Regions from separate parts of the Homo sapiens genome. Here region 2 is linked to region 1. The links are contacts of gene promoters, found by promoter capture Hi-C in blood cells and fetal thymus (Javierre and others, 2016). All regions are on one chromosome and are shown on one strand. The core of a region is centred on a gene start or on the middle of the fragment in contact, and the rest is flanking DNA. Distances in the headings are between cores, read along the strand shown. Region 1 holds the start of RSL1D1 (ribosomal L1 domain containing 1). Region 2 overlaps LOC400499 (putative uncharacterized protein LOC400499).

Region 1 (2,749 bases), core at 128-2,627:
GAGGCTGAGGCAGAGAACTGCTTGAACCCGGGAAGCGAAGGATACAGTGAGCCCAGATCGTGCCACTGCACTCCAGCCTGTGCGACAGAGCGAGACTCCATTACAAAAAAAAAAAAAAAAAAAAGGAAAAAAATTAATTAAACCCATCCAACAAGAGAAAGGAGAAGTATCTCCTAAACATGCCTAGAACATCTCTGGAAGGTTCCAGGAGACACTGGTAAGGGTACCTCTGGGGAGGCGGGTGGAGTGGGAGGAAGACATTACAAAGCAAACCTGTCCTACCCAAGGGCCGCGTGCGGCCCTGGAGGCCAGGCTTTGAATACAGCCCAACACGAATTCGTAAACTTCCTTAAAGCATTACGAGATTTTTTTTAGATTTTTTTTTTAAAGCTCGTCGGCTATCATTAGTATTAGTTTTATATATGGGCCCAGGCAATTCTTCTTCCAGTGTGGCCCACGGAAGCCAAAAGATTGGACTCCCCTGTTCTAAGGTATTCCATTTGTCAGTTATCCAGCCTCCACTCCTAACCTGTTTGTTTAGCGACAAGGTCTCACTCTACTGCCTACGCTGGAGTGCAGTGGCGCGGATCAGAACTCACCGAGCCTCGAATTCCTCAAGATCCTCCATCCTCCGCCTCCCAAGTAGCCGGGACTACAGGCGCGCACCACCACGCCGGCTAATGTTTATAATTTTTGGAGAGACGGAGTCTCGTATATGCACGGACTGGTCTCCAACTCCTGGAATCCCTCCGCCTCGGCCTCCCAGAGCGCTGGGATTCCAGACGCCAGCCACGCGCACGACCAGCCACGCTTATTTGTACAGGATCTTACCTCCCGCCTCTCTGCGAGACCAGAAGCTCCTAAGAGACTGGCCCAGACTCATCTTTCGGTCCCTCATGCTGCTTAACGTGGCAGGTCGGGTGGCTCCGGGTGGCTCCCGTGCCTTATATTTCAGGGACTCCTCACCAGCCTGGGGTTGGCGTCGCCTAAAGTCAACGGGCAGGTGGGCAGTGGAGCCAGGATTCCGCGCTCTGCCCATGCCACGCGCGGCCTTCCCGGAGGCGGGGACCGTGGAGTGTGGAGGACCCCACTGGGCCTCCTGACGGGACTCTTCTCTCGCCTCAAGGCGCTTTCTTGATTTCTATCTAGTAAGAGTGAGAGGACACCCAAGCTACTCCCCACAGCTCATGGAAAGCTGGAGAAAAGCGGAAGAGCAGGTGCCTCCTCAAAGAAGGGATTCTGACAGCAGCCACTGCCCCGGAGAGCGAAACCCCACGCTCTCCCGGAAATGACGCACAGAGGCTCGGTTCCCGCCCCCTCGCTTCCGGGGCCGGGCTTGCTCGCGCGTGCGCACCAGAAGCCAGCAGTGGGGTTGCACACGCGCCTCTTCACGAGGTGGAAACAAGATGGAGGATTCGGCCTCGGCCTCGCTGTCTTCTGCAGCCGCTACTGGAACCTCCACCTCGACTCCAGCGGCCCCGACAGCACGGAAGCAGCTGGATAAAGAACAGGTGAGTGGTTCCTGGGGAGGGTGGCTTGGAAGCAGTGTGGCGGTTACCTCGTGAGGCGCAGGGTGCCGGAACCCGAGTGCGTGCTCGGCGGACTTCCCCGGGGCTGTGGGACGGTCGCTGGCGGGCCGTGTGCCTCAGCTGTCTCTCCCCTTTACACACGTGGGTGGGCGCCTGCTTTCCCTGGTCCTGCGGCCTGGCGCTAGTGAATTGGGTTGCAAGTGTGCTGTGGAGCTAGATGAGATAGACCTGGCGACCTGGCTTAGCTTCCCTATCATTAGCGCTTGACCGAATCGCTTAGTTTTGCAGGTCTGTTACCCGTTATTTAAAGTGGGCCCTTCGGCTCCCCGTTATCCAGGATCGGGAGAGGTAATGAGTGTAAAGCGCTTTGGCCTGGTACATGGTAAGAAGGTGCTCAGTAGGCCGGGCGCGGTGGCTCACGCCTGTAATCCCAGCACTTTTGGAGGCCGAGGCGGGTGGATCACCTGAGGTCAGGAGTTCGATACCAGCCTGGCCAACATGGTGAAACCCCGTCTCTACTAAAAATACAAAAATTAGGTGGGCGTGGTGGCGGGCGCCTGTAATCTCAGCTACTCGGGAAGCTGAGGCAGGAGAATTGCCAGGAGTTCTCAGTAAATGCTAAATGCATTTTGCTTTGCGTTTTTCCTGGGATTACTGCTTTCATCATTGAGGGCAGGAGGGGCACGTTTCCCTCTAGCCCAATCTCTTTAAGTAGAAGAGGTGCCCTTCTGCACACAGTACTGGAAGTGGGTACTTAGGCATGTTTGATGGATTCTTAGATTTCTGTGAATATAAACTGCAGGATCCTAATAGATACGGTTATGGAGGTTACCCCTTGAAATAGAAGTTGGAAGGGAAAAAATAGAAGGTGTGGGAGGGGGCAAATGCTAAATTAGATTGAGAACATTTCATTTATTTGTGTAAGTTATTGTGAAAACATTTCACTTATTTGTCTAATTTCCACTTTGCAGGTTAGAAAGGCAGTGGACGCTCTCTTGACGCATTGCAAGTCCAGGAAAAACAATTATGGGTTGCTTTTGAATGAGAATGAAAGTTTATTTTTAATGGTGGTATTATGGAAAATTCCAAGTAAAGAACTGAGGGTCAGATTGTAAGTTGTGATTTTCTACCTTTGCTGTTTTTATCTGTGTGTTTATTCTTTGTAACTCGAACAATTGCATCATGGTTACTAATGGAAACTTTGCAAACTTATAATAAAA
Region 2 (2,749 bases), core at 179-2,678, 450 kb after region 1:
GCCAACATGGGGAAACCCCGTCTCTACTAAAAATATGGAATTAGCCAGGCGTGGTGGCACATGCCTATAATCCCAGCTACTTTGGAGGCTGAGGCAGGAGAATTGCTTGAACCCAGGATGTGGAGGTTGCAGTGAGCCGAGATTGCGCCGTTGCACTGCGGCCTGGGTGACAAGAGTGAAACTCCATCTCAAAAGGAAGAAAAGAAAAAAGAAATCTCTGGGGGAGGGGCATTCGAGGCAGGTAAAGAGACTGTGGTATATATACACCATGGAATATTACACAGCCGGAAAAAAGAATGAAATTCTGTCCTTTGCAGCAGCAGGGATGCAATTATCCTAAGTGAACTAGCTCAGAAACAGAAAACCCAGTATCACATGTTCTCACTTGTAAGCAGGAGCTAAACATTGAATACACATGGACATAAAGATGGAAACAGTAAACACTGAGGGCTCCAAAAGGGAGGAGGGTGAGAGGGAGCCAAGGGTTGGAAAATTACCTGCCTGGTATGATGTTCGATATTTGGGTGACAGGGACGCTGGAAGCCCAGTCCCCACCATTACACAATATACCTATGTAACAAACATGCACACTGACCCCCTCAATCTAAAATACATTTTTTAAAAAGAGTATTCCAGGCAGAGGGAACAAGACATGCAAAGGGCCTGGGGCAGGGATGGGTTTGCATGTTTTAGGAATGGCCAAGGAGCCACTGGGCTGGAGCTGGGTGGGTGGGGAATGGTAGGAGGTGGTCTGATCACACAGGGTCAGTCAGGCCACAGGGAGGCGTTTGCATTGTGTTCTATCTGCTACTAGAAGCCTTTGAAGCCATGATCAAATAAATGATGATTTCAGATCCCTCTGGCTGCTGTGTGGGGAGGGACCTACAGGTGGCAGAAGTGAGCAGTGAGGAAGCCCCATAATGGGCAGGGGCAGGGCAATAATAATGCGTGGACCAAGCTGGGGGCAGTAGTGATAGGTTTTAGAGACGTTTAAGAGCAAACTTCCTTCCCCACCCCAGCAGTCCCCCTGCAGTGCCCTCAAGTCACCCTCGGACTGTGGCACCCACCAGCAGGGACGGCGTCCCTCTCCGAACCTTTGCACAGGCTCTTCCATCTGCCTAGAATGCTCTTCCCTGCCTCCTCCCCAAGCTTGCTTCTCTGCGTTCCTTTCTCCCTTGAATGTCTCTTGTGACCATCCTTGTCACCTTATCCCATCATTTTCTGTCCTGTGACTATCTCGACTATCTCCCTGGGAGCCCCTTAAGGGCCAGGACCAGGTCTTGGCTAGCTTTGTACCCAGGCACTCAGCACTGGCTTGGGAGCATGATACCTGCTCGCTACATGATTGAGAAACCGCAATACCAACTGCGTGCCTCCTACAAGCTCCTCTCCACCGTGTAGCCCTGGGCTGAGTGCACCACTTGTATCATCTTGCAAAGGTTGACACTTTCTGGCCTCCATTTTCTAGGAAACTGAGGCTCAGAGAGGTTGAAAAATGCCCAGAGCCACACAGCTTGGCCATGGAATTGAGAAGTGGCTGTTCTGTGCTGTCTCCTGTTGGCCATACTCCCCTCACCTACTCCTCTCCTTTAAATTATCTGCTCATCCTTAGGAAGCATTTGGGTTTTTGATCCCCTGACATATGTCACCATTCAGGAAACTGTAAATGATCCACAAATATTCCCTTTTTCCTCCTCTGCAAGCTTCTCTTCTTTCCCATCCCAGGCAGAAGCATGGGTCGGGTTCCCCCATGACGCCGTCATTCTCTTCCAGCTCAGCGCTCTTCCCAGGGAGCTGTTCCTGCAGACCGCATACGAGCGAGCTCATGGGACCCGTGTCCTGCGCCAGGTGGTGCTGTGGGATGGCCAGGAGGTGGCCCTCACCGGGAGCCTTTCTGGGCCTTTCCCCAAGCCCACCAGGAACCTCAGCCTGCAGGGTGAGTGTGTGAGGGGCTGCAGGCAGGGGTGGCCCAGTCACTCAAGAAATCATCCCTGGCCAGGCGCGGTGGCTCATGCCTGTAATCCAAGCCCTTTGGGAGGCCGAGGTGGGTAGATCACTCGAGGTCAGGAGTTTGAGACCAGCCTGGCCAACATGGTGAAACCCCATCTCTACTAAAAATACAAAAATTAGCCAGGCATGGTGGCAGGCACCTACAATCTCAGCTACTTGGGAGGCTGAGGCAGGAGAATCGCTTGAACCTGGGAGGCAGAGGTTGCAGAGAGCCGAGATTGAGCCAGTGCATTCCAGCCTGAGCGAGAGTGAGACTCGGTCTCAAAAAAGCCATGACTGAGCACCTGCATATCCCAGGTGTAATCTAGGCACCAGGGGTCCATCAGGAAGCAAGATGGCCCAGGTGTCACCCCTCAGGGAGACAGGCATTGAGCAACAAGATGCACATAAGCAAAATAACGTCAAGCATGACCATTTCCACGAGTGGGAAAGGCTGTGAGAGCAAGCAGGGTCTTTGTGGGGTGTGGGCCTCCTTTAGGTGGGGTGGTCTGGGAAGGCCTCTTGGAGGAGGTGACTTCTGAACTGAGTTCTGAAGGATGAGAAGGAGCTGGCAGATCTGAGCAGAGGCACTTCAGGCGGAAGGCCCCACTTGGAAATGAGGTTTGCATGTGGAGCAGCAGCTGCGGGGCTAGCATGGCTGGAATGGGGAGAAGGGATGAGGCGAGGCAGGAGGGCTGGGGGACCCAGGTCATGCAGCGTCTCAGCTCATAGAGAGGAGCTGGGGCTTATCCTGAGTGCA

What was found. The method cuts DNA at HindIII sites, captures the fragments that hold promoters and counts their contacts. A CHiCAGO score of 5 or more calls a contact.
Region 2: a fragment that was not itself captured here is called in contact with the fragment with the promoter of RSL1D1 in region 1 in 4 of 17 cell types (neutrophils, naive CD8 T cells, naive CD4 T cells and 1 more); the score reaches 7.9 in neutrophils.

What each region holds. Positions count from the first base shown.
Region 1 is chr16:11,850,170-11,852,918 of GRCh38, reverse strand. RSL1D1 (ribosomal L1 domain containing 1) reads left to right here and starts at 1,377. Exons shown (of 9, transcript NM_015659.3): 1 at 1,377-1,511; 2 at 2,501-2,640. The coding sequence starts at 1,407. RefSeq lists enhancers at 175-708, 709-1,243, 1,016-2,215 and a silencer at 1,261-1,447. The HindIII fragment of the contact is 5,793 bases long and covers 1-2,749 here.
Region 2 is chr16:11,403,891-11,406,639 of GRCh38, reverse strand. It overlaps LOC400499 (putative uncharacterized protein LOC400499), which reads left to right. Exons shown (of 67, transcript NM_001370704.1): 48 at 1,774-1,936. Among named protein-coding and RNA genes, the nearest start is that of RMI2, 60 kb to the right of the region's middle. The HindIII fragment of the contact is 554 bases long and covers 1,152-1,705 here.